Regions from separate parts of the Homo sapiens genome. Here all the other regions are linked to region 2. The links are contacts of gene promoters, found by promoter capture Hi-C in blood cells and fetal thymus (Javierre and others, 2016). All regions are on one chromosome and are shown on one strand. The core of a region is centred on a gene start or on the middle of the fragment in contact, and the rest is flanking DNA. Distances in the headings are between cores, read along the strand shown.

What was found. The method cuts DNA at HindIII sites, captures the fragments that hold promoters and counts their contacts. A CHiCAGO score of 5 or more calls a contact.
Region 1: a fragment that was not itself captured here is called in contact with the fragment with the promoter of SEMA3D in region 2 in 2 of 17 cell types (megakaryocytes and erythroblasts); the score reaches 7.9 in megakaryocytes.
Region 3: a fragment that was not itself captured here is called in contact with the fragment with the promoter of SEMA3D in region 2 in 1 of 17 cell types (megakaryocytes); the score reaches 5.8 in megakaryocytes.
Region 4: a fragment that was not itself captured here is called in contact with the fragment with the promoter of SEMA3D in region 2 in 1 of 17 cell types (megakaryocytes); the score reaches 5.2 in megakaryocytes.
Region 5: a contact is called between a fragment that was not itself captured here and the fragment with the promoter of SEMA3D in region 2, in 1 of 17 cell types (megakaryocytes). The highest score is 9.8, in megakaryocytes.
Region 6: a contact is called between a fragment that was not itself captured here and the fragment with the promoter of SEMA3D in region 2, in 5 of 17 cell types (megakaryocytes, M0 macrophages, M2 macrophages and 2 more). The highest score is 9.4, in megakaryocytes.

Annotation. Positions count from the first base shown.
Region 1 is chr7:85,836,932-85,841,394 of GRCh38, reverse strand. No RefSeq gene overlaps it. Among named protein-coding and RNA genes, the nearest start is that of LINC00972, 420 kb to the right of the region's middle. The HindIII fragment of the contact is 1,474 bases long and covers 1,008-2,481 here.
Region 2 is chr7:85,184,038-85,188,757 of GRCh38, reverse strand. It overlaps SEMA3D (semaphorin 3D), which reads left to right and starts at 1,702. Exons shown (of 19, transcript NM_001384900.1): 1 at 1,702-2,080. RefSeq lists a silencer at 1,831-1,890. The HindIII fragment of the contact is 2,551 bases long and covers 701-3,251 here.
Region 3 is chr7:85,855,993-85,860,923 of GRCh38, reverse strand. No RefSeq gene overlaps it. Among named protein-coding and RNA genes, the nearest start is that of LINC00972, 440 kb to the right of the region's middle. The HindIII fragment of the contact is 8,193 bases long and covers 1-4,931 here.
Region 4 is chr7:85,778,880-85,783,236 of GRCh38, reverse strand. No RefSeq gene overlaps it. Among named protein-coding and RNA genes, the nearest start is that of LINC00972, 360 kb to the right of the region's middle. The HindIII fragment of the contact is 4,828 bases long and covers 1-3,669 here.
Region 5 is chr7:85,735,278-85,739,742 of GRCh38, reverse strand. No RefSeq gene overlaps it. Among named protein-coding and RNA genes, the nearest start is that of LINC00972, 320 kb to the right of the region's middle. The HindIII fragment of the contact is 957 bases long and covers 1,571-2,527 here.
Region 6 is chr7:85,758,305-85,763,181 of GRCh38, reverse strand. No RefSeq gene overlaps it. Among named protein-coding and RNA genes, the nearest start is that of LINC00972, 340 kb to the right of the region's middle. The HindIII fragment of the contact is 3,351 bases long and covers 1,356-4,706 here.

The sequences.
Region 1 (4,463 bases), core at 495-2,994, 650 kb before region 2:
TTTTGTGTGCGGGCAAAGGTACAAGCCTAATTTTCTTCACATTGCTGAATCTACTCTTTATTGTTACTGTACAATTTAAACATGAGCATACACACATTTTATAGTCAGTTTTAATTCTAAAGATTCATCTGTAAATTCACTGGTTGTTACCCATTTTTGTAGAGGTAATCCCATATATAATTCCAGAATAGCAAATAGTACTGACTATATGAGGCGCTGGAGGAGGTAACAGAAAAAGAAAAATGAACACTTTCATATAATATTTTTATGCCACAAACACTTCACATATATTAACTTTTTTAATCTTCAGTAGCATTTTGATGTAAGTCCTATTATTGTCCTCATTTTACAGTTGAGGAAGCAGATCTAGAGGAGTCACATATCTTGGCCCAAACATACGGTAAGCAGTTGAATCTGGTTATGAGTCTGTGGTCTTCACTACTATGCTGCCTTAACCAGGAGATAAGTCTGAAAAAAGCTGTGTGTTCAGCACACTTTGAGGGGACTGAATATTTTATCTCTGCTTCACGGACAGCATGTAAATTAGTTGAAAGAGAAAGAGGCCAATGAGTGTGTAAGGGGTTTTGGAGTTGACATAAAGCAAATCCGTAGCATAGATACAGGGTGGAACATCCTGCCAGGATAAGGCAGTAATGTGTTTACATTTCAAATCATGAATGTGTCGTGCGAGAACTGGAGAAATAGATGAGGTAAATTATGTTGCATAATACGGCTGTATTAAACTGAGACACAAACACTGAGACACGGACAACACATTTCTGGCAGTAAGGAGAGAAATGGAGACTCAATCTTGAATTCTTCTGAATTTTCAATGTTAAGTTTTTTCCAACAATTATGTATTCAGTATCTACTCTCTGACATGTACTGGCACAAAATAAAGACCCTGAACCTCTTGAAGCTTATACTTTAGCAAGCTTACCTTATTTAGGTATCTCTAAAGATCCCTGAATTTGACTATAATTTTACTGAAAACACAAGATTAAGCTTTCTGAAACAGGAAGATTAGTGATGAATGAAATAATTTATGTTGAGTTGCAGAGAATAAAAATTACCTATCTGATACAATGTTCAACATTTGGGTGATGGGTACACTAGAAGCCTAATCCATACCATTATGCAATAAACCCACATAAAAAACATACATACGTACTAAAATTTTTTAAAAAGTACATATAAGCAAAGGACAGAAATTATTATATTGTTGTAAGTGACAGATATGCATACTATTTGGCATAGTACTCCTCATTTGGCATGTAGTAATTACTCTAAAACATTAATTCTATGTTATGGTATTATACTCACACACAAAATAAAACAAATCTAAGATTTGTTCTCTAAGTTTATTCTTTTCATGTTTTGTAATTTATTATTTTTTGCTTGTTTTGTCATTCAATAAGCCTGCTTTCTTGTTTTTAATTTTCATATTATTTTATTAACACTTAGTTTATTTTATTATTTTTAAATTAATGATGAACTAAGGCAAAAAATTTCTTCTGGTATGAGCTTTATCTATACCTTGTAGTTTTTGATGCGTACAATTCTAAAATAATCAGGAATTCTAGTTTTTATTCCTTTTTTACCCAGCGGTAAACTAGGAGAGTTTCAAAACATGCTTATTTATTTTAAAATGTTAGGCTTTTCTTTTAATTAAAAAGTAAACTTTATTATTATTGTGTTTCCTTTTAAATTTATAGATATTTTATTCTTATGCTAAATCATGTTTAATATTTGTAGCTAGTCTATGAACACTTGAAAATAAGTATTTTCCTGCATTTCAGATTATCTGTATATTTCAACCTTTACTATTTTATTATTCTAATCCTTTTTTTCTGCCTTGAACATCACTATATTCATCAAGTGGATGAGAAATTCAGTTTTATTTTAGCCTATTTTCTAGATAGCTTATGAAAACAATGAAAGAAAATAATAATAATGGAAAAGGTGGAATGGAACAGGAGCTATCACTATAGACAGAGAGAGAGAGATTCATGTACACGTGTGTGTGTGTATTTATAAAATTTACTGATGCATGATATACATATGATAACATTTATTTATTTTAAATATACAGTTTGATGCATTATGGTAAATATATACAGTCAGGAGAAATGAGATTTTAAATTTCATGCTGTACAAAACTATGGAAACAGCAGTATCTTTTATCTTGTACTTAAATGAATATTTGCAATATAATAATCAGTTAAAGATTCTAAATGATAAAAATTCTATTCACTGTTACATAAACTTGAAGAAGTTGGCAATGTTATATGTAAATATTAGAGGACTTAATGAGGACAGATATTTATCTTCAACAAATATAATGAGGGATTCAACTTATTATATCCAAATAAAACTCCAAATAAACAACCTAGGAATAATGGAGCTAATATTTTAAATATATTTCAGCTTAATATAGAAATAATTTTATGAAAATAGCAGATTCTAATATGGAAATAAGCTTTTCTGGGAAATGTATGTTTGATATCACAGGAACAGTTCAGGCCATGGATGGAAGAGTTACTATAACAAAAGCAGCCACACTAGTGACAAAGCTGAGTTAGCTCTTTCTAACAAACACTCCCTCCAGCTCATAGATTCAGTTATTCTTTGAAAATTGAAAAAGACAAATGAGGGAAAAATATTTCTCTCTGTGACCATATTAGTTACTCCAATAAAAAATGTGATATATACATATATATATACATATATATAATCACAATTCATTAGTAGCCTTGAAACATTAACAACTAGATTAGTAATAAATTACATATACTTAAAATTCAGAGGATAAGTTTTGCATTTCATATAATGGTAAATTAAATCACACTTTTGTTTGGTGTTCCATGAGGGGTAGGGAAATTGAGTAGTTTACCCGTGATATTCTCAGGTAAAAAATGTGGTATTTGTCACTAATGAGGTATTTGGGGTTATTTGGAAAATCTATTTACAGTCAGAGCCCGGAAAAGTGACCATTCTTCAATTCTGCCACTGGGTTATTGTTGTTTCATTTAAAAAAAATATGGATTTTTTTAATTAGTAAAAGCTAAATATAACCAAAGACATGAAGTGGGAAAAATAAAATTATGAAAGAGATATTAAACTTAAGTTCTGTTTTTTATAATTCAAATCTTTTAAAGGAAACCTTGGACACACAGTATTATCTGAATTGGGTGGAGTTAAAAGCACTTAAGAAAACACTTATCCAATGGATTAGTTTTTTCTTTCTTTCAATTTTCATAGCTTCAATTTCATTTTTAATGGGATCCAAATGTCTTTTCAAATATATAACCATTTAAAAAGCTATTACGTGCTTAAATGAACATTAGAATTTTATCTTTTGTAATCTTAGCTACAGAGTTCTTGTAAATGAACAGGATAGATGTAAAGTCCTAAATCAAAATGGACTTAGGTATTTTCAATTGTTGGCAATAAATAATTAGAAATGAGAAACCACCCCAGGAAAACATCTCACTGAACCCCCTTTTAAAAATTGACTTTTTATTTTGCTTGAATGTATTTGTAGTTATTCCATCAAAATATGAAAATACACTTATGTCTATAAATTAGTTTTTCTTCTGTTAATGTTGCTGATGAGAAAAAGCAATAAAATGAAAATTAATTTGCTAAGTCGTTTCCCGATATGGTATATATGCAATGATTATGTTTCCTTACACATCCAAATGAAAAAAAGCAAGAAGTAAAACAAAGGTATGGTAATCAGAAATGTATGCAAAATAAAAAGCAGCCATATGTCAATTCAGGAATATTGAGAGTAAAATAAAGTATATTTAACTATAAGAAATATTAAAATTAGTTTAAAATATAAAAATGCCTTTCTATGTTTCCATATATCATCTTAGTTACCTGGAAGGTATTACAATAAAATGTGGCTAAATCAACTATCTAGAAGTCTATATGCTTCCCGTAACTGAAAAGCTCCAAATGTATAAATGAAAGAGGAAAGTGTAGGAGGAACAAAGGCCACAAAGAGTCCTTCTTTAAAGAGAAGAAAGTAAATAAAACAGAAGAGAGGAGTAAAGGCCTCCATTATATCCAGTGTTCTATTTGTCCACTGGTTAAAACTAAACAAGTTGTTGTTGTCAGGCTTTTATTTGAAAAGGCAAGAAACAAAAGTAAATGGAAACCAAAAGACACAAAATAGGTAATGAAGAAGAACCAAAAGGAGGAGGAGTGAAAAGAGGAGAAGGAAAGGATAAAGAGTAGAAAGATCGAGAGAAGAAATATGAACCCTGATGTGAGGAGAAAGGGAACTCAAACTAAATGAGGAAACCGAACAAGTCTGGAAAGCATTTGATTAGCTTCAATAAAACTGAACATATGGGATTAGAAAGGGGGCTGGGGAAAGACAAGATTTGTAATCGCCCCAAATAATAAAAATGATAACTTCCAGTTATATTAACATATTCTTTTAATCAAGACAG
Region 2 (4,720 bases), core at 453-2,952:
AAGCTACAACTTAAAAGAGAAAGGAGGAAAATGGGAAATCCAAAGTTAACCACAATTCTAGTTAAACACAAAATTCTGGCCAATAAACTGACAAAATTATTTAAAAGTTTAAAAATAGAGATTTTCTAAAAATCAAAAACTACTTACTATAAACCCACCATATACGGGAGAAAAAAAGAGATATTTTATTTGCACAATGACATTGCAATTTGCATGGAAGTGCAATGACATATACAAATGAAAATAATATAAACACATAGAAACATACAATAAACAATTGCATGACTATGTACAGAATGAGTGGTATAACATTAAATATAAAGCATTCAGAAAAAAAATAAAAGTTGCTATAGTTTGAAATAGTCTACGAGGATTTAAAATTTTTTTCTCTATCCAAAGAGGGTATTTATGGGGTTGATTGGTTGTGAGTCCAAACCAAGGTTATAGAGATGGGGCAGCATGAGACACAAGAAAGAGCCTTGGTCAGATTTGAGAAACCTGAGCCTTTCCTTAGCCTGACTCTGCCATCAACCATTTATAACTTAAAATGACTCCTTTAGCTTCTGTGGCCCTCAGCCCTCTGCCACAGATAAAAGGTCAAATGAAGAATGTCTTCCACCCCTTTCAGTTATTCCATTACTGCATTTGTCTGTTCACCATCTCCAAATCAAGATATCTCTTGTTACTTGCTAAGGAAGCTTTGGGACCCTACACCTTGTGCTCTTAAATCAAGCTGACAAATGCAGGATCCCGTGGCTGCTTGCTTTCCATGTCTCTACCTCATGTCAGATTTATGTTTGGGACTAAGGGCAAGGTGTGTGACTATAAACCTGGATATCCCATCACAAAGGATTTACCATGCAGCTAAAAATGCCTAACGTACAGGGCTCACCAAATGCACAGGCCTTTTTAATGTCCCTGACGGTGGCCTCATGAACTCTCATTGTCATATATTTTTGCAGAATCTGTAGAAGTGAGATATTTCTGCATTACTTTTGCTTAAAGAGGATCCTCTATTCCAATTGCATAGGATCCAGGTTCATCAAAACTTAGATCTTCTCGTCATTATATACTTCTAAGTTCCTACTGTGTGAATAAGGGGTGCAAAAATCTAAAAAACTCCCGAAGACAAGGATATGAGGCACACCTCTTTGTAGGTCTGGCGTAAGGGAAAGAGGAAGAAAGGATTACATTCTACTCGTTTTTATCTCTCCCTGTTTGGTCTTAATCGGGTGCCAGCCCCTTAACGGAGGGTTGATCCCTGTTCCTCATCCCTATGCCTGCCTTGTCAAGGCCATTAACCGTGGATTGAGGTTTTACATAGTGGAACGCAGGTACTGTTTTGTGGGATTAGCATTTTTAGGACGGTGTTTGTGGTCACTCTCCCTGTTTCTTCCTCATGGGGTCCCTTAACAGGTTTTATGGTATAGAGAAGGAACTAAAGAAGTCCCCAAGTCACCCAGAAGGAAGATCAGACGTTAGAGGTTGCTTTACACATAGGGTGCCCTGTCCTGATAAACATCCGTCAGCGCTTGGCCAGGGCTACCTCTAAATCCACGCTGCTGGCAGCCTCCGCGCAGCAGGGATGAACTTCTGCACGCTTGGGAGTTCTGGCGTGCGCAGTGGAAGGAGGGGGCGAGGGCTGGGGGAGGAGATCGGAAGGGGAAAGGTAATCCCCGGCGTTTTCAGCATCCTCTTTTTAGAAAGACTGAGTCTCTCCCAGGACAGCTGCTGCGGTCACACCACAAACTTAAAAGCCGCCCTCCTGTTTGGAGCGTGCCTTTCCTCGCCACCCTCTCCTCCCCAAAGCTCCAGCTGGTGCCTTGCTCTCCGCCTGTCCTAGCGCGGCTCTCGGGGGAGGCAGCAGCGCCCCCTGCCTCCCGGCCTGGCCCCTGCGGCCGCAGCTTCCCGGCTCTGCCAGGGCTGCCGGCGGCTCCGCTTGCTCAGCCAGGGCTGCGGCTCAGAGGAACGCGCGCCGGTGCCCCGGGTTGCCGCGCCGCTGGACCTCAGCCTGCATCCCGTTCCCCTCTCCCTGAAAAGGCACCAGGAAAAGAGAGAGGGAGAGAAGAGTTCACAGCAGGTAAGTCTGGTTTGGGTCACCTGCTACTCCAGTGGGAGGGTGTGCTGGAGACCGCGGTGCTAAGCGGGGATAGCCGGGATTTGGGGGTGGCTGTGGGTCCGAAGTGGAGGACGAGCATGGTTTGGGAGATAAGGAACCGTCCTGAGACAGAGAAGGCTCCCGGGAGCGGACAGAGAGTGGGCGAAATCGGTGCGCAGTAATCGCGGCGCCAGCTTCAGCGCGGCCCCTGGGGCGCAGTCCCACCCCGCCTCAGCAGCTGCGGAGCCTTCTGACGAGCCTCCGCCTGGCAGCACTGCACAAAGTTTTCCTCCTGAGACGCGTCCAGGAACTTTGCTCTCTCCCTGGCTTCCTGGTTCCCCCACCACCCCTCCTGGTCTGGGCAGCAGAGAGCGTCTATGAATGTGTCCCCGGCTTCCGCAGGCTGCAGGTTCATTTGGAGACGCTTTAGTCGGGAACATCCGGGGAGTACTTGACCAAAGGGCATCTGCGCCCTCGCTCGCTCCTTTCCTTGTTGGTCTGGGAGAAGGGAAAGGGGCAAGGAAGAAGGAAGGGAAGCGTGGTGGTTTTTGTTGTAGCGTTTTGGAAGAGGAATGGGCGACGCCTTTTTCTTCGCCGGGGAATCGCGACGTTCCGTCTGATGGAAGTGTGCATCCTTTTAGATTTAGAGGGAAAGTTGGAGTCAAACAGCAGCCACAAAGCTGGCTGTCTGAAATGTGGTTAAGGCAAAACACTCGGGGGATCTCTTTGTAGTAGTGGGCTTGGCTCGCTTTGGAAAGGCCGGATTTGACTCGTGCTGGGCATTTAACCAGGAGTGCGGTCCCCAGGGTGTTTCCTCCCGGCTTCTGCCCAACGAGCCTGGAGTTAATGCGTTAATGGGCTACCCTGGTAGCGCACGGGCCGTTTTCGGCACTGTTTCTCCTTCTCTGATGACTCGAGTTCAACCTCCTGGGCTGAGTTGCTTTGCCTCCGTCACAGTGCAAGGAGGGAAGTTGACAGGAGGAGGAGACGCCGCGCTGTGGCAGGGAGCTTTGGGATCCAGGGGACTGGAAGAGAGCCGCGCGCCAGCAGCTGGGGCCGCTGGTGTCCGGGATTCCGAGTTATGGGGACAGGAGTTAAATAGCCGAACTTTCAGCGATTTCGCCTCGAGCGAAGCGGTAATAAAAGGCAAGCTTCTGTGCGTGGACTCTTATTTCATCACCAAAACCCCACCACTTTCCGTTTAGCTTAGTGCTATTTGCACAAGCAAAAGAAGAGGGGAGAAGACCTAAACTTTCCGGTTTAGCCTAAAAAGGGTTCTCCTGCATGTGTGCGCTAGCGGGGGATGGCGGGGTGGGGGCGCGCAGAGACGAGGGGGAGGATCTCCTAACAGAGAGGGAAGGGTTGAGGCGGAGGTAGAGGAGAGGTCTGAGACATCTCCTGGGTCTGGTGCTGCTGCTATTGTGTAACCATGGCAACCGCGGGGGCAGGGGTGGTCAGAGCCTTCCCAGTTCTGCACGTGGAAAGAAAAATGTGAAGGGCAGAGAAGGGAGAGAGCCACATGTCATCACTCCAGTGATGCCTTGCCTTCTCCTTTTTGTTCTCCTTTTCCTTCTCCTTTTCCTTCTCCTTTTCCTTCTTCTCTGAGGCCAGATAGCAAGGAGGATGAGCAAGAAGACACACATGTCATCACTCCAATGATGCCCTCCCTTCTCCTTTTCCTTCTCCGAGGCCAGACAGCAAGGAGGATGAGCAAGAAGATCGGGGTTGGGAGTGATCAGCCCCAGCTGGCCACTGCTTTAACCCAGTCGGGTCTTAGAGTCTCTGAGACTCGCCCCAGCGGATAAGACGGGTCAGGGGTGCCATCGCTGACAGGCGCAAAGTGATGGCCCTGGTCAGGGAGATGGGCAATGACCTTGGCTCTTGGAAGGGAAAGGCCAGGAAATACAGGAAGGTGATGTGGGACGAGATAAGAGTAGGGTCAAGGGCTGACAGACAGTAAAACAGTACTGATTCGAATTGCCAAAATTTCCAATGGAATTTGCCCAATTGTGAAATGGAAAGTTCCTAGAGAAGGGAAGAAACATTTATCAAACACCTATTGTGTTTCAGGTGCTGTGAACTTTATCACAATTAATATCCTCAACAATATGATACAAGTGTCATTATTCTCTTATTCTTTTCTTTTTGAACAGAAAAGAAAAAAAAAACAAAGACATAAAGATTTATAAATGGGTATTGTCCCATTTTGGCTTTTATGTTCTTAATGAAGAACCGTAATTCTTAAAAAAAAATTGTATTGCTGGGGGAATAAGCTAGGTAGTTATTATTTTAGAGATGATAATAAATGAGATGCAAAAATGTTGCTTGATGTGCCCAAATATAAGCTAGTAAGGGCACGAACTGAGATACGAACTGTTTTACCTGGGTGTGGGTCTCCTTTCAGAAACTTCAAGAAAGTTGTCATGACCCCACTTAATGGGAGGGCTTTCTAAGGTCAGTTATGATGCTGTATCTGTATCTGTTATCATTTACATGTGGAGAACACTCAAAATTTTAAATGCAATTCATGGTTGAGAATGAGAATGAACCACATCAAATCGATAAGCCCAGAATCGTATGTATGTGATATTAATGATCTATTCATACCTACAGGTTTCATTT
Region 3 (4,931 bases), core at 2,285-4,784, 670 kb before region 2:
CTTTTCCATTATTAGTCATAGAGTTTGAATGGGATTGACAATATCACAGCTCCAGAGATAGTCCTTTATTTGCCAAAACAATCTGAAAAATTTCACCTCCTTGGTCAAAATATTTATAATATTTAGACCACTCTGCATAAGACGTTCTAGCTACAAATCAGTTAATTCCTTTTTTGTTTTCTGTTTCTTATTTTTCTGTCATTATTATTAATTCTGTGACATTGGACAAGCTACCCAATCTCCTTGAACTTTTGTTTCTTCTCTGTAAAACAGTGGTTCCAGTATAATATATACTGTAGAGTTATTATAAAGTTTAAACTACATAGCAAGTTTTTAATGATATATTTTCTACACAGTGTAGACAATAAGAGATTAACAATGGAAACAGCAGTCTTGAAAATTTGATTTCAAAATCCCTCTAAAGCTCAGGAGTAGGCTGATGTGAGAGTAGCAGTAGGAAATAGTTTCCTTCACAGACCCATGCTGATGACAACTGGGCTCCATAGGCAAGCCAATAATCACTATTCCCATTATTCAGTGAAATCTCATGCCATATAACCAATATATCTTCAAATGAAATGTTTTCCTCATAACCCCCTGTGCTTATAGATTTTAGGTCTAGTTAAATACTTAATATCAATCAAGGTAGTCAAGCAAATTTGTGAACATCATCATTGCATAGGGTGATTTAAAGTGACTGTCAGTCCTTGGTGTTGACAAGTTAATGTTTCATGATTCACTATTGCCATTGTTTACCATGATAACTTATAATTAAGAAAGCACTCATGCTTGGAACCACTGTACTTCCTCTCTATAAAATATAAAGGTGTTTATTTTTCCTTAAGTAAGTCATTAAGTATTTAAGAGACATTTCCTAAATGCAAAATTGCTACATGATATGGAAAACTATTTGTATAAATTAAGGACAATCACAGGAAAATGTGAATAATTAATCATTTAAATAATAGTTTAAGAAAAGAAAATAAGAAGTACAAATAAATGCATATCACCATATTACTCTATTAAAAATTTTGGAGCATATTTGGTAAAAATCAATGAGACCACATGGACACAGGAAGGGAAACATCACACACTGGGGACTATTGTGGGGTGGTGGGCGGGAGGAGGGATAGCATTAGGAGATATACCTAATGCTAAATGACAAGTTAATGGGTGCAGCACACCAACATGGCACATGTATACATACGTAACAAACCTGCACGTTGTGCACATGTACCCTAAAACTTAAAGTATAATAATAATAAAATTTTTAAAAAGTGATACCATATAAAATTATGCAAAACAGTTTATTTTCTTGAATATACCAGAAATTATTCTAGAAATGAAGAACTAAATAAATATATTAAAAGAATGTTCTTCTTAGACAGAAAAAATATTTTAATCCCAAACTTATATTTTTACCTTTTTCTATTCTATTTTGTGTTCTCTAAAATGTCTAAAAAAAATCCTACCCTTAAAATATGAAATACATACAAATACAAGTATAACTAGTAAAGGACAAAATTGTCATGATGGTTTATTTCAAAAGTATGAACTTTAGACATTGTTCTATCTTTGTAAAACTTAATTACATTTTTGATACTTCATTTATAAAACTGTGCAGTCAACCTACAAATCTCCAACCCTTATTCCAGTTAGGTATTCTAAGTGTCTTTTCTACAATTTAATTTTTTGCTTTTTGGTTTTCTTTTTTTGACGAGGGGTAATAAAAAGCAATTTTTATCTGTATTTTTAATACTGCTCTTCTCTAAGAACCTATAATAACTCATTAATGTATGATATCTCATTGTTTTCTGTCATTCTGAATCAATTGTTTCTGGCAGTCCTTTTTCTTAAATTTAGTGAATTTTGAAATTAGTGGGTAATGTCTGACACTTCTGTTATTCATTTCCTATCTTTAATCATTTATTTTGAGGCTAACATATCAGTATTCTCCATAAATACACTGTTGCATGATGGAAAACATAATAATTCATGTGTAAATTTTGGCATTTTGTGTACCAAATTTATGTTGAAGTGGTTTTCTATTAACGTGTTTATTTACACAATAAAGAGGAAAAGTAACGTCGTTTTTGTTTGTTTAAAATCCATTTTGGTGCTTCAGTGAAAAAAATCTAAAAGGAAAAATTAGAAATTAAAGGTAAATAAAATAATCCATACATATTAATGTATTTGTAATTAAATAATAATGTTAATATCGTGCTCTTTTACTATGTAACAATCAAGAAGGCGTAATTTCTGCATACATGCTGCTATTTAGCTATAGGACTGCAAATTCAATGGGGAAAATTGTTGAAATAAGGAAATATAACTGATTCCTCTCAAATTATTTCTTCAATACTTTTAATATTGATTCATCACCTTGTACACCATCCTACCCAGTATTTTGAAGTTCTCACCATCTCTAATATATTTTAATTTTAAATTAATAATATTGTAGGAATAACAAGAAATTGGGTGGAAATAGTTACATAATAAATTGTTGATACTCTGAAATTATTTCAAATCTTGCTAAGGCTAACAGGTTCAGAAATTTTCACTAGTCACAGAAATAGTAGTAATGCTTTTTTTTTCTACTAAAATTGTTCAGCAAAATTTTACTACAATTTGGTAAACACATAAAATACTCTAGTTTTCAATCGAAGAGAAGATTCAGGATTGTTCCCAAAGTTTTATTTAGATTGCCCTTGATATTAGTAAATATAGATACATTATATTTATATTTTACCTTATAGCATTAAGCACATAAGTAAAGGATATTGCTGTGATTGATAGTAAACTTAGGTTTTTATAGGTGAATGTACTAGATATCACTCATACATATATACTGTTTTTCTCTTTTTCATGATTAGCTCAATTTCAAGTTCTGCTTGGAATTTACATAGTTATCACAGAGTTTTTAAAAGGCTGACTAATAAAAGACAGAGATTATTTTATTTTGTGTACACATGCACACACACACATATGGGAAGACTCAATATTAGAGAAACATCAGATCTCTTCATATCAATAATGTGAGTTGGGGAGGTTACTTCAAAATCCCAATTTCTTTCAAAGACATTGGCAAGTTATATCTCTCCCTTTGTATTAGTCTATTTTCAAGCTGCTGATAAAGACATACCTGAGACCAGGCAATTTACAAAAGAAAGAAGTTTAATCAATAACCCACAGTTCCACCTGGCTGAGGAGGCCTCACAATCATGGTGAAAGGTAAAAATCACGTCTCACATGGTGGCAGACAAGAGAAGAGAATGAAGAAGAAGAGAAAGCAGAAACCCCTTATAAAACCATCAGATCTGGTGAGACTTAACTCACTACCACAAGAACAGTATGGGGACATTGCCCCCATGATTCAATTATCTCCCACCAGATTCCTCCCACAACACATAAGAATGATGGGAGTACAATTCAAGATGAGGTTTGGGTGGGGACACAGCCAAACCATATAATTTCACCCCTGGACCTCCCAAATCACATGTCCTCACATTTCAAAACCAATCAAGCCTTCCCAACAGTCCCCTAAAAATTTTAACTCATTTCAGCATTAATTCAAAAGTCTACAGTACAAAGTCTCTGAGACAAGGCAAATACCTTCCGCTTATGAGCTTGTAAAATCAATAGCAAACTAGTTACTTCGTAAATACAAGTACAAATACAACAAAAGTACAATAAGGAAACAGAGAACTTGAACAAAATTATAAACAATGAACCTAATAGACATATGTAAGACATTCTACCCAGGAATATCAGAATACATGTTCTTTTCATGTGTGCATGAAACATTCTCTAGGATAGATCATATGTTAGCATACAAAGCAAGTCTTAAAAATGTAAAAAGATTGAAATCATAGCATGTATCTTTGTCCTACCACAATGGAATAAAACTAGAAATCTATAGCAGAAAAAAACTAGAAAATGTACAAATATGCACCAATTAAACAACACACTCTTAAACAACCAATAGATCAAAGAAGAAATCAGAAGGGAAATTAGAAAATAGCTTGATATATGCAAAAATGAAAACCCAACACACCAATCCTATGTGATGCAACAAAAGCAGTATTGAGGGACAATTATGGTTATAAATTCTACATTAAGAATAAAGAAAGATGTTAAGTGAACAACTTAACCTTACAACTCAAGGAACTAAAATCACAAGAACCAATGAAGGCCAAGTTTAACAGCAGGGAAGAAATAAAGATTACAGCCAAAATAAATGAAATAGATAAGTAAAAAATAGAAAAATCTGTAAAACTAAGAGTTTTTTGAAAATATATATTAAAATGGATAAGCCCTTAGCTACAGTAACTATGATAAAAATATTAAAAACTTAAGTAATAAAATCATAAATGAAAAGGGAGATGTTATGACTGATGCTACAGAAATAAAGAGCACCAAAAGAGACTACCATGAGCCATGATAGCCAAAAAATTGAATAACCTAAAAAATGAATAAATTCCCTAGACATATACAACCTAGCTAGACTGAATCATGGAAACAGAAATTGTGAACAGACCTATAATAAAGAGAAGGACTGAATCAATCTCCCAGTGATAACAGAAAAAGCTCAGGACTCAATGACTTCACTGGTTGATTCTATCACATATTAAAGAAGAACTAACACGAATCCCTCTGTACGCCTTTTTAAAAATTGAAGAATAGGAAACATACTTCCAAACTAATTTATGAGCCAGTATTACTCTTATATCTAAGCCAGCCAAACACACTACAAGAAAAAAAAAAAAAAAACTACAGGCCAAATTTCCTCAAGAAAATACTTACAAAACTGTACAAACCTTCAGCAAAATACTAGCAAATTGAATTTATCAGCACATTTAAAGCATCATATATTATGACCAAGTAGGATTTATCCATAGAATGCAAGACTGGTTCAACTTACAAAAATAAAT
Region 4 (4,357 bases), core at 6-2,505, 590 kb before region 2:
TTATTCATATGTAGAACCTAACAAAGTTTATCTCACGTTTGTTATCAGGGGCTGAAATGGTTAGGGAAGGGAGGCTGGTATATCTTGCTCAAAGGATTCAAAATTTCAGATAGGAGAAAGAGGTTTAAGAGGTCTATTGTATAACTTGGTAACTATATTAAACAATATATTGTATTCTTGAAAAACCCTAAAAGAATGGATGTAAGGTTTTTTTTCTCCACAAAAAAGATAACTGTGAGGTAATACATATGTTAACTGGCTAGATTTATTTATTCCCCACAATGTGTCTTACTCCAGAAGAATATGTTCTACATGGTAAATATATACAATTATATCTGTCAATTAAAAAACTAAATTAGAAAATTGAAGAGTGATCATTACTAGAGATGAAAGCACATTAGACTAAAATGTTGTTGATTTATTCTCAGTTTAATCAGTAGATGAAAGTCTCTGAAGTATCTTTTTCTTTCTTTAATCTTAAAAATATATCCAAAAATATATATATACTTGTCAAAATAACTAAACGAGTCTAGCCTAGCTGGCCTATCATTGAGGTGACATTAGTAGAATGTCTGGCTCCTCCACTTACTAGTTTTGTTTTCTTGGACAAGTTATTTAATCTCCCTTTTCTTCACTTTTTTATGGTGATATAAATAGTACCTAACTCACAGAGTAACTCAAAGAGTAATTAAATTAATTATTAAATTTATTTAATGATAAAATTTATTTTTAGGCGTGCAGAAAGGAGACTGGCACATAGAAAGAATATTGATTGTTCTCATTTTATTATTTATATTATTGTTGCACATACCCTAGTTACATGTGGAAGTGATTGTTAAGGATTAAATGAGATAGCGTTTATGAAATATTTTGAAAATAATAAATTTACATGGAAATTCAAGCTATTTTCATGACTAAACAGTGCTTTTTAGCTTTGGCAAACAGAGCCTGAATTTTCCATTCAATCACTCTTTTTAAAATGATTCTTTTAATTTGTGTCTATGGATGCATCTGTTTTAAAAAGCTAATTTTAGACAAGGCTCTTTCCCCTATGGGCATCAAATAGTATGAGCCTGTTTCTTTTTGCAAATTTCACTAAACACTTGAATCTAGTTAAGTCTCAGAGTGAAACAATGACAGAAAGCACTGACCTAAAACCTGCACATTTCCTCTGTAGATTATCTGTTGCAAGAATGATTTCTGTGATCTTTTGAAACAGACCATGTGGTACATAGTAAACTATAGAATCTCAAAATAGTATTTCTTTCATCATTTGCATGATAGTTTTGAAGAAAATATATACTGGGGAGCCAAAGCATACTTGTGTGTCTTCAGACATAACAACTACCGAGTGCAAAGTGTAGCTAATAGAATTCAACCAAAACGATGACACAACCCCGAAGGAGTAGACAGACATAGTGTTTATCATAATTTACACCCAACCTTGGCAAGCAATTTTTTAAAATTAAAGAAGATATAACTAACTGCCAAATGAAATAGTCTGTGTGATTCATCTTGGTGGTGTGGTAAGTGGTTTTCTGATTGAAAATCTATGGAAAACAAATATATCTTTATATTCCCCAGGAAATTAGGCAGTCAAATGTTTTATTATCTTCTCAAATTGTATTACGAAAAAAATTCCAGGAATTGGAGATTTGTGGGATGCATGAGTTTTGGTATTTCATTAAAAATCATGTAAACCTCTAAAATAGAGTTCTCAGTTTAAAAAAATTATCTTCAAAATGCTGTTAATACCATATGCTTATTTTCAGTACCTTCTAAATGGAAGTATTTTCTTTATACAGAGATGGCTCTGTTTTTAGTATGTTCTCCCAAATGCCTATTTCTTAGAGAAGTTAGAACTCAGAATACAGCCCACTTCTGAACCAGACTAAATCATTTCCCTTCATATTTTTAAGATGGATCTCGAGTTCAGAAAGATTAATTACCATGTGTATGAAATAATGCCTTGGCATATTGTACTCAAAAGCTATCTTGTTCAATGCATGGATTAATTAATATTACCCAATACATTCATAATTGGCGTGGAATACATTTTTGTTCTTGATCCTTCTGTTGTTTAAAGACCTAATGCTAAGTCTCTAGCCTTTTGCCATGATGTAATATATTTTGAATAGAGGTGTAAAGCTATTCTTTGTGAACAGTGATCTTCATATCTTGGTTTGTGCTGTCAGCATGAATTGTAGAGACATAATTGTAGATACAGCATTTTGGTGCTATGGGTTTTTTATCTACTTTATGTTTTCCACCATTGTTAACAAATAGCATTTTTCACATTTGTTATTTCATTTGAACTTTCAGATAACTTTGTGAGAGGTATACAGAACAGCTATTATGAGAAAACAGAATTTGTGGGGTTACAAAACCTGGTAGGAATTTAGGAATGCATTTTCAAATACTCTCAAAGTTTCTTTTTCTCTTTTATTCTTTGAAAAAGCAGAAAGATATTTTATATAGAAGTATATTATACTTGTATATGTGTAGATAAGGTGTGGACATTAAGAATGTGCAAATCCCAGCCTGGCCAACAATGATGAAACCCCCGTCGCTACTAAAAATACAAAATTTAGCCAGGTGTGGTGGCCTGTAATCCCAGCTATAAGGCATAAGAATATTTTGAACCTGGGAGGCAGACATTGCAGTGAGCCAAGATCGTGCCACTGCACTCCAGCCTGGGCGACAAGGGTGAGACTCCGTCTCAAAAACAAACAAACAAAAAACAAACAAAAAAAGTGCAAATCCTTTTTATAATGAGCTATTTGCCACAAGTAGTCAATATGTCCAACATGTTTATAAGCCTCTTATAGGACCTTATTTATGACAATCTACATGGTCTACCAGGATATATCATAATTCGAGAGAACCGAGAAACACTATTGATAATGAAAGTTCTGGAAGTTTTGGAAGAGAGGACTAGCTTTGCCCAAAGTGTGAAGACAAAACATATTTCTCCAGTTTATCTCCAGTGATTTGTGTCTCAGTGCCTTTGGAGAAAATTTGTTAGAAAATAAAACAAAACAAAAAGAAAACAAAATCTAATGTAACTATTGTCACCCAAGAGTCTTCTTGAAAACGATTATTTCCCTTTCATGAGGCAACAACCATGATAGCATCCGGGAACCTGGTAGTAGCAATGCCATCAAGAGTGGCTGGACACATCCAGGGATTCCTGGTGAGCTACTGGGCACTACTAGGGCAACATTTAACCAAGGGCAACATTTAACAGCAGACTGGAGGTGACTTAGCACACAGAAAGATCCTTTTCTTGGTTTTATGTTTAGGGAATTTCTTGCTGATTAGTAGAAGCACCAGAGGCCACAGGGTTTGAGAAAACTTGTCCATGGGACACAGGAAACATCTACAAAGTAAGTGAAAATAATTTTGAAGAGAGTTTTAAGTCTTACACTGAAAGGCATAGGCTAGAGCCAGCTGACTCAGGTAATTATTAATAAAATTTAGCCTTATTTTGTCTCTTACTGCAGTAGCATAAAGGTAGTGAAGTTCAGTATATCCTAAATAAAATAGATAAGAACCACTTCAAAAATAAATTACAAAGCACTTTTTCATGCTTTCCTCTATTTAATCATATAAAATTACAACATAGAGGACAATTATCTTACTAAATTTTAAAAGGTAAAAAATCAAGCTTTTGGGAGCATACTGACATAGTTGACACATAAGTGGTAAATAATGAAGCATGGATTTAAAACAAGAATTGAAGCCAGAAAACTTCATTTCTCATTCTTAATTTACTACTTTTCCAATTTTGTAAACTCTACTCCATCAAAAATCATGAGCTTAGTGTAAGCAATTTTCTATTTTTTATCAAGATGTAATTTTTATACAACTCAGTTTTAAAAACAATAGAGTAATTAAGCACATTTAGTGTACAAAACTCAATTTTTGAAATTCATAAAAACCACAGTTATTTTCATTATAAACATCATGTATTCTTATACAAAGATTCCAAACCATATGGGAAGATTGTAAATTAAAAAGTAAGAGGTCCAAAGCACCACAAACTTCAGAAAGAACTTTAACAGTCTATTGTGGATTCGTGCAAAATGTGTTTTATGAACAGATAATTGTATTTTTAACACATTATCAATCAAACATTGTGTTAAATTTTTTTCTATGTAACAATTTAACAAATAATCATGGGCCTATTTCCATATGCATATTTATTGATGCATGTTTATGTAAATATTTTTCTACTTTAGAGAATGTTGCATTCAAAATTGCTCTATATGATTTCCATGGAAGTATAATCAATCATAGAATAAACTCCCCAAGGTAGAATTTTTGGATCCAAGGGAATGTGTGTTTTAAATTTTGA
Region 5 (4,465 bases), core at 800-3,299, 550 kb before region 2:
AATGATGTTCTGTGGACAACCGAGTATCAAGGCTGGACCTCATCTACAGGTGGTTGTATATCCTTAAAACCATGCATTCACTTTACTAAAGAAAGAATCCAGTGCAAATTTCTATTCTCATTACCACGTCTACCGACCCTAGCCCTACTTTGAGTCACTTCTATGGCATAGGAGCCAACTTGCCTGGCACAGACCTCATAGGGTCTTTTGAAATGTGTTTTTATTAATCCCTCATCCTGTTTGCCCCCTTCCCTCTCTTCTCCTTCTGAGCTTTCTTCTAATCAGACGGCCATCCCTTCTATATCCAATGATAATACTAAAGCAAATATTGTAGAAGTAAATTATCTAAGGTAAACTTTAACAATTGAAACAGTATATCAACATATAAATTCCTGGTTGGAATGAATCAAATATTCCATCCACACATTAAACAAGAGCAATTGTTATGCTTGTGTGCACGGCCTCCAGAGGCCCAGATTGTCCCCTTTCCACTTGAATGGTCTCCCAGTAGAGCACACATGGGCTGCATGAAAGCTCTCCCACAGGATTCTATGGCTTGGGACAATAAATCATGCCAAGCTCTCTCTCTGCTATATCCCGAAGTCCAACACCCTGCGGATCGGCCCCCGAGGGCCATCCAGCTTCCATCTCCCAACGTCAATTTCACCTCATGTCTCTCATGACAAGGGGAGAACTTGGCGTTCCTTGAAAACTTAATGAGATGTAATGAGCTTAAGCCCTTCTAAGAGCTTACCTATCAGTCTACCGTTAGACGTCCTCAAGTGGATGTATGGTGGTATTATGGTAGACCCTTACTGGATACTCTGTGAAGTAACTGGAGCGGCACTTGCGTTCTTGTCCAATTGACTATCCCTTTCACCCTGATATTTCATTAGCCAGATAAAGAAAAATCACAACACTGTAAAATAAGAAAAGCCCCTATGGGTCTTTTGACTCTGAAGTTTATTTGGATGTAATTGAAGTCCCACAGGGAGTACCTAATAAACTCAAAGCCTGAGACCAAATAGCTGTAGGATTTGAATCAGTATTTCCATGGGTAACTATTAATAAAAATATAGACCAGATAAATTAAATCTATTATAACCAACAGTGATTTATTAATTACACTAGAGATGCTGTCAAAGTAATAGCCAAGCAATTAGGGCCTGTTAGCCAAATGGCTTGGGAAAACACAGTAGCCCTAGAAATGATGTTAGCTGAAAATGTGGAGTTTGAGTTATGACTAAAACTCAGTGTTGTACCTTCATCCCAAACAATACTGCCCCTGATGAAAACATAACAAAGCCTTCACAAGGACTTACCACTTTATCCAATGAACTAGCTAGAAATTCTGGAGTCGATTACCCTTTTTCAGGATGACTAGAAAAATGGTTCGGTAATGGAAAGGAATAGCGGCTTCAATTCTCACTTCTCTTGAAGTCATAATAGGTGTACTCATTCTTGTTGGGTGTTGTATTATACCATACACCCATGGGCTAGTACAAAGGCTTGTAGAAATGGCACTTACTAAAACTTCTCTTAGTTCTCCTCCACCTTATTCAGATAAGCTTTTCCTTTTAGAGGATCAAGTTGAACAACAAAGCAAAGATATGTTAAAAAGGTTTGAAGAGGAAGAACTATAAAAATTAGAAGGGGGGAATTCTAGGATACAATAAAATTCCTCTTCAAAGGTTCATCCTGTTAATTCCTTGTTCTTTGTTCTCAAACCTAACTTTCTTGTTCTCCGTGCCTCCTTGCCCCTAGTTACTATAAACAACCTTCTCATCAGTGCTAATCAATAACTCACATCTGTTACCTTGGTTATTCACTCTGTACCCATTCCTCCCACCAAAACTGCACATCCAACCACTGTAACTCACTTTCCCTTTCCCACTTCCTTATTTGGGTAAAATATTCGCAAATAGCCAATTGGGTCAGCTTAGACTGTGCGGTTTAACACCAGCCCATGGGGGAGTAACACAGATGTAGGAACTACACCTCAGAAATAAAAACCCCTTCCCTCCTTTGTTCAGTGTGCTCTTGTTATCATGATTGACACAGGCAGCACCATTCTGCAGAAGTAAATTGCCTTTCTGAAAAAGAACTTTTGCCTGAGGGCAGGTTTCATTTTGCGGCACTGAGCATTTACTTCCAACTGAGCTTCTTTTGTAAGTTATCTGGTGGTTTTCCTCACTGCTCTTATAATTCATTCCTTCACATTGACTTTAGATAACCTGATGATATATGCTTTGGTGATGTCATTTGTGCAATGAATTTCCTCGGAGTTCTTTGAGTTTCTTGTATTTGCATGTCTGAATTTCTAGCAAGACCAAATAACTTTTTCTTATTTTCTGAAATAGGTTGTGCAGACATTTTGCTTTATCTTCTCCTTCAGGAAGACCTATGATTCTTAGGTTTGGACATTTTACATAGTCTCACATTTTTTGTACACTTTGTTCACTTCTTTTAATTCTTTTCTCTTTATTTTAGTCTGATCAGGTTAATCTGAAAGCCTTGTCTTCAAGCTTTGGAATTATTTCTTCTACTTGGTTTACTGTACTGTTAAAATTTTCCACTATATTTTGTAATCCCCAAAATGTATCTTTCATTTCCAGAAGTTCTGATTTTTCATATTGCTGATTTTTCATATTGCTGGTTACTTCTTATTTGAGTAGACTATTTCTTATTTTTTTAACTTTATTTTTGATTTGACTGGGTTTCTTTAAAAATATTTTTTCCTTTGAAGATGTGACTTTAATGTACAGTTTATGTTGACCTAGCTTTGGCTCTGAATGCTTTCCATGGTAGAGACTCTGTATTAATTCCTTGGTTATAGATAATCATTTTGTGATGGCTTTCTCTGATGCTGGTTGTATTAACAATGTCCTTGGTGTGTGAACAGGCTCACTGTCTCTTGTGGGGCTGGAAAGGCAGAGGTATCATGAAGCTTATCTTATCTCCCAGTGGTGTACACTTTTAAAATTTTTTTCTAGTTTAGTTTTCACCGGGTTAACGAGTTTGGCATCAACCTGGTGAAAACTAAACTGGAAACCGGTCCATGGTTTAGTAGGAGGTGGCCAAGGCTAAAATTTTGTTGTGGCTGAAGTAGGTGGATATATTCAATACCTCAATGGTGGGAAAAGTTCACAGCCTTGACAGTGGTGGTTGGGGGAGCACTCATTGAAATACATTCAGGTCTTTTTGAGGGGAAGGGAGAAAGCCACCTCCTCTCCTCTTTCAGAACAGTAAGAAAGCTGTCTGCCTCCACATTATGCACTTGTCTCATTGTTCTGGCTATTCATATCAGATAGGTGCCTCTTTCCAGATTCAGGAATGCTGATGTTCCTTGTAGAGCGAGATTGTTACTGTACTCCTCATACAAGCCTGAGCTTGGAGGGCACTCATGTTGTGGGGATGCAGTCACCTCTAAGTGCTCCGGAAAGGCTACGTATGGGCGGACCCATGCCGAGTTCCTGTGGGAGAAACCGCAGCTGTGTACGCAGTGGTGGTAAGGAGGAGATAAAGTCTCCTCCAAATTTCTTCATGAGTATTTGGGCTGCCCAACTACTGCGTAGAACTGCAGTCCTTCCTCACCGAGACCAGCACTACACTTGTGACTCTGCTGAAAGAAACTTCCCACAAGCAGAAAGTTCTGGGACTCAAGTCCTGTACTCTGGTTTCTTTTGTGCCACAGGGTGCTCCCTTGATGTGGTGCACTCCCACTTCTCCTAGGAATGGTGGTCCCTGAGGGCCAGACTACTGTGAATGCTGCTGCTCTTCTGAGTCTAGGTGCCTGGTAGGGCTTCCACATTCCAGGTGGTGCTGGGGAATATCTACAAGGGATCCAATGTTATTAAGGTACAAGGGTTGAATGTCCTTAAATAGAACAAGGTCCCTCAGTGAGAGTGCATTCAGTATGGTATATGCTATTACAGCTTAGATTCAGAGGGAAAGGGAAAAAGCATTGTGTAAACAAAGGTAATGCCCTCAGAAAGTCCCCAAATTATAGCCCACTGTAATTCTGCTCACAAAAGCAAAGAAGCTCTCCTTGAGCTCATATATCAGTAGTCTACTGCAAGAGCTAGAGAGGTCAAGAGCACTCTCACCTATCCTTTCCATGGATTGCTAAGTTTTTCAGGGTTTGATTTCTGTTCGATCCCTGTGAGCTTGTTACTTCCTTTGTATATGTGTTTGTTGTAGATTCTTCCAGTGAACTTTCCTATAGAGTCTAGCACTCTCCCTTTACCAATTCATTTGGACTCTGATTATTCACCAGTAATTTGATTCTGCCTTCTGAGAAGAATTGGTCACTAGCATCTCTTGTTAGTCAACTGGGGAAGCTCTCTGCTGCCTCAGGTTGTGGACTGGTTTGCAGGGTGTGCAGTGGCTGGGTTCTGCGCTTAGCTCCAGAGAGAGGCAATGTTGGGTGGAGCTGGATCAAGTTTTCCTGTCCTCTGGTTTCCTC
Region 6 (4,877 bases), core at 1,782-4,281, 570 kb before region 2:
AGGAGGGAGAATTTTGAATGTTCCCAATACAAATAAATGAAAAATATTTGAGGTGATAGATATAATTTTACTGGTTTGATTGCTACATGTCATATACATGCATCAAAATAACGCTCTGCTCTCCATGAATATGTGCAATTATTATGTATCTAACTAAAAATAAAATTTAAAAAATCAGTTTACAAAAAGTCATGCATTTCTAATATCTGCTTTTAGACTTCTCTACTTTTATTTTTCCTGACTCTGTTTCCACTTCCTGATTACATCTTTGTTACCTATCATTCTGAGTTCTTGGCAGCTTCAACGCACATTCATAATACTATACCTCATTTTTATTCTGTAATTCAAATCTCAGTTTCATGTTCTGCATCTACCCTTTTCTAACCCTACTGTTACTGCACTCATACGCTGGGCCTCCCTCCACATTGTGTTTTCACCATCTTAATGCTCCCCATTATGGAGGGTAAAGAAGTTCAAGTTCTCCAAAGACTGTCTGGAATTATGTATTCCAATTTTCTTTATTATAAATTAGACACATGTGTTACAGATAAGCTGAAAAACAGGCTTAAGATCATAGAGTTAATTAATGGAAAGATAATTAGAAAGAATTATTTGCATTATGACTCCTGGTCCAGTGCTATTTCTACCCAGTTAGATGTATAGATTTATCACTGAAAAAAAGTTAAAATATTATTAAATTTTGGTGTTCCTTTATAAAGCTACAATTTCCAGTTTTTAATACTCCTTTGCATTATTTATGATTACTTTAGTCACTACACAAGTTTTAAGAAAAACAATACAGGGCCATAAATGTCATATTTCCTTAAACTCAGCTGGGAGTCTACATTCAGGCACTGATTTCACTATTTTCAAAATACAAACCTACAATAGCTCCTCTCCTCACTTATCTACTGACTCCTGACTTACTAATATAGAATTTTATGAGCTAAGTTCAATTTACTAGTAATTTTTAAATGAAATTGATAAATGGCAAAACGGTGTGTCTCCCTTTTCTTACTCCAAGAAATCTTAATTGAAAAATAACATCATTTAAACTTGTTGTGTTTTGCCTTTGATTTCTTCCCTCACTCTGTTTTCAAACTTTGTTTCCCTAAACTCCCAAGTCAATGTTTCCTTGAAGAGGCCTTCGATTATTTTGCAAGACTTATATCTTCTTGATAGTCTTGATCAATTTTGCCTCTTTCTTTTCAAAATGACATAGACTCACAGTGGTGTTTAAAACAATAACTAGTAGGGAGGAATTATATTTTAGTACCAAACATTATAGTTACCGGAAATGCAAAGATTATTTAAAAAGAAATAATCTCATTTTTTATAATTTTAAAGAAAAAGCTTTATGCCTAGGTTTGTAATATTGTATTATTTTCAAGATTTGAGGATAAAACCCCTCAGATAAAAGTATATATGTATAGAAAGTTTGATTTCAGTTGTAATTCTGGAATATACTTATTAGAGCCATTCAATCTAATCAGGCTAACCACAGAAATGAATTTTGCTCTTATGAAATTCTACTTACGTGCACACAATCTGATTTATTTGCTTTTAGAATTTTCTGGCAATATTTTGCCTCTGTGGCTTACATGTCTTTCATATGGCTACAGGATTTATTCCCATTTCTACCATCAACCCAATAAAGGGTTTCAACTAAGGTCGCTGTGTTCCAGTATTTCTTATTCAAGTCCACAATTTCAAGTCCAATTGCTGATTAAGAAGTAAACACTATAAGCCCCAAACAGGCCTCCAATTAAATACTGTATCAACACAACTCTTGTCCTTTTTCTCTTTGAAACTTCACAGTCATTTGGATGGATGGTATTTTTGGTTAAACATAGCAAATCGTGTAAAAACTAAGTTTGTTCAATATGATTGATATAATTTTATGTCATATTATTATATATTTCTTCATTAGGGGATTAATAATACTGTATAAGCAATACATATAGCAAGTGAAAATTACTTAGCATATACAACTTTTTCATCATGATATAGCCATTAGTTAGACAAAAATAAACCTTGCTCAGATGGTTACCTCTTTTCTGCCTCATAGTTATTAAATAAACCAGGAGTTTGACTTACATCATAGTGGTTTGTGGGAACTGCCTCTACAGAATAAATGTTTAGAAGGTGAATCCTTGAAAGGGCATTGTAAATATTTTTTAACCATGGATTTAAATACTTTATTTTTCTTCTGTTTATGTGTAATTTTTAACTTTCAAAATTATTATATCAGTTGTTAGACTTTATAAAAGTTGTGCAATTCCTTCTTCCTAAGTATTTTAGTGCAATTTTACTTTACAATGTAGAGTATAAAATTTAGTAATGAAATTATATATCTATATGTAAAAATTCCATTGTTACATGGAATTATATTATTACATATGGATACAGATGAAACAATACATGTATATTGTTACATATACTTAACAATATATGTCACCTGTCACCCAAATAATGTACATTGTACCCATAGACAATGTTGTATCCCTCACCCACCTCCCACCCTCACCACTTCTGAGGCCCCAATGTCCATTATACCACTCTGTATACCTTTGCATACACACAGATCTCTCTTATATATGAGAGTATGCTGCATGTGGTTTTCTGTTCCTGAGTTACTTCACTTAAGATAATGGCATCCAGTTCCATCAAAGTTGCTGCAAAATACAGTATTTTATTTTTCTATGGCTGAGTAGTATTCCTTGGTAAATATATATCACATTTTAGTTATCCACTCATCAGGTGATGAGCGCTTAGGTTGATTTCATATCTTTGCAACTGTGCATTGTGCTGCAATAAACATACAAATGCAGATATGTTTTTGATATAATGACTTATTTTCCTATGGATATCCATAGGAAATTCCTACAGTAGTAGGAAATCCCAATAGTGGGATTGCTGGATCGATGGGTAGATCTACTTTCAGTTTTTTGAGAAATCTCCATACTGTTTTCCATAGAGTTTGTACTAACTTAAATTCCCACCAGCAGTGAAGAAGCGTTTCTTTTTTACCACATCTGTGCCAACACCTTTTTTTTTTTTTAACTTTTTAATAATTGCCATTCTGGCTGGTGTAAGGTGGTATATCACTGTGGCTTTAATTTGCATTTCCCTGATGATTAGTGGTTTTTAGTATTTTTTCATATGTTTGCTGGCCTTTTGTATATTTTCTTTTGAGAAATGTCTGTTCATGTTGCTCATCCATTTTTTAAATGGGATTATTTGTTTTTTTCTTGAGGATTTGTTTGAGTTCCTTGTAGATTCTTGATAACCTACAGATTCTGGTTAACCTATAGGTTTACAGAACCTATAACCTATAGGTTCTGTAGTTTCTCCAGGCCCTTTCTATAGGTTCTATAGATTCAGAACGTTCATTCTTTGTTGAATGTATAGTATGCAAATATTTTCTCTCATTCTGTAAGTTGTCTGTTTACTCTGAAGAAGCCTTTAGTTTAATTAGGTCCTAATTATTTGTTTCTGTTTTTGTTGCATTTGCTTTTTCAGTCTTATTTGTAAATAATTTCCTAGGTTAATGTCCAGAACAGTTTTCCTAGGGTTTCTGCTTGAATTTTTATGGTTTTAAGTCTTATATTTAAGTCTTTAGTCAATCTTGAGTTAATTTTTGTATATGGTGAGTGATAGTGATCCAGTTTTATTCTTTTTCATGTAGCTATCCAATTTTCCTAGCCCTTTTAATTGAATAGGGTGTCCTTTCACCAGTGTATGTTTTTGTCTGCTTGGGCAAAGATCAGTTAGTTGTAAGTATTTGGCTTTATTTGTGGAATCTCTATTCTATTCCATTGGAGTGTCTACTTTTATACTAGTACCATGCTGTTGTGGATAATATAGCCTTGTAGTATAGTTTGAAGTCAGGCAATGTGATGCCTCCTGATTTATTCTTTGTGCTTAGAACTGCTTTGGCTATTTGGATACCTTTTTGGTTACGTGTGAATTTTAGGATTGTTTTTCTAATTTTGTGAAAAACGACATTTGTATTCTGATAGGAATAGCATTGAGTCTGCAGATTGCTTTGATCAGTGTGGTCATTTTCACAGTCTTGTTTCTTCCAATCCATGAGAATGGGATGTTTTCCCACTTACATCATTTATGATTTTTTTTGCATTTTATTTATTTTTAAATTATTTTTAAAACTTCTAGATTAGTTTTAGGGGTACATGTGAAGGTTTGTTATATAGATAAATTATGTGTTGTTGGGGTTTGATGAACAGATTATTTTGTTACCCAGGTAATAAGCATGGTGGCTTTGAGTTGCATTTCTTAAATGACTAGTGATGTTGAGCATTTTTTCATATGCATTACAGCCATGTGTATATCTTGTTTAGAGAGGTATCTGTTTATGTCCTTTGCCCACTTTTTAATGGAATTGTTTGTCTTTTGCTTGTTAATTCATTGAAGTCCCTTATAGATTCTGAATATTAGACCTTTGTTAGATGAGTAGTTTGCAAATATTTTCTCCCATTTTGTAGGTTGTCTGTTTACTCTGTTGATAGTTTCTTTTGCTGTTCAGAAGATCTTTAGTTTAGTTGGGTCCCATTTGTCAACTTTTGTTTTTGTTTCAGTTGCTTTTAATGTCTTCATCATGAAATGTTTCCCAGGGCCTATGTCCAGACAGGTAATTAGTAGATTTTCTTCCAGGGTTTTATAGTTTTAAGTTCTACATTTAAGCTTTTAGTCCATCTTGATTTGACCTTTGTGTATGGTGTAAGGAAGGGGTCTAGTTTGAATATTCTGCATATGACAGTTCAGTTATTACAGCACCATTTATTGAAAAGGTAGTCCTTTCCCTATCGCTTTGGCTTGTCAATTTTGTCAAATATCAAATGGTTGTAGATGTGCAG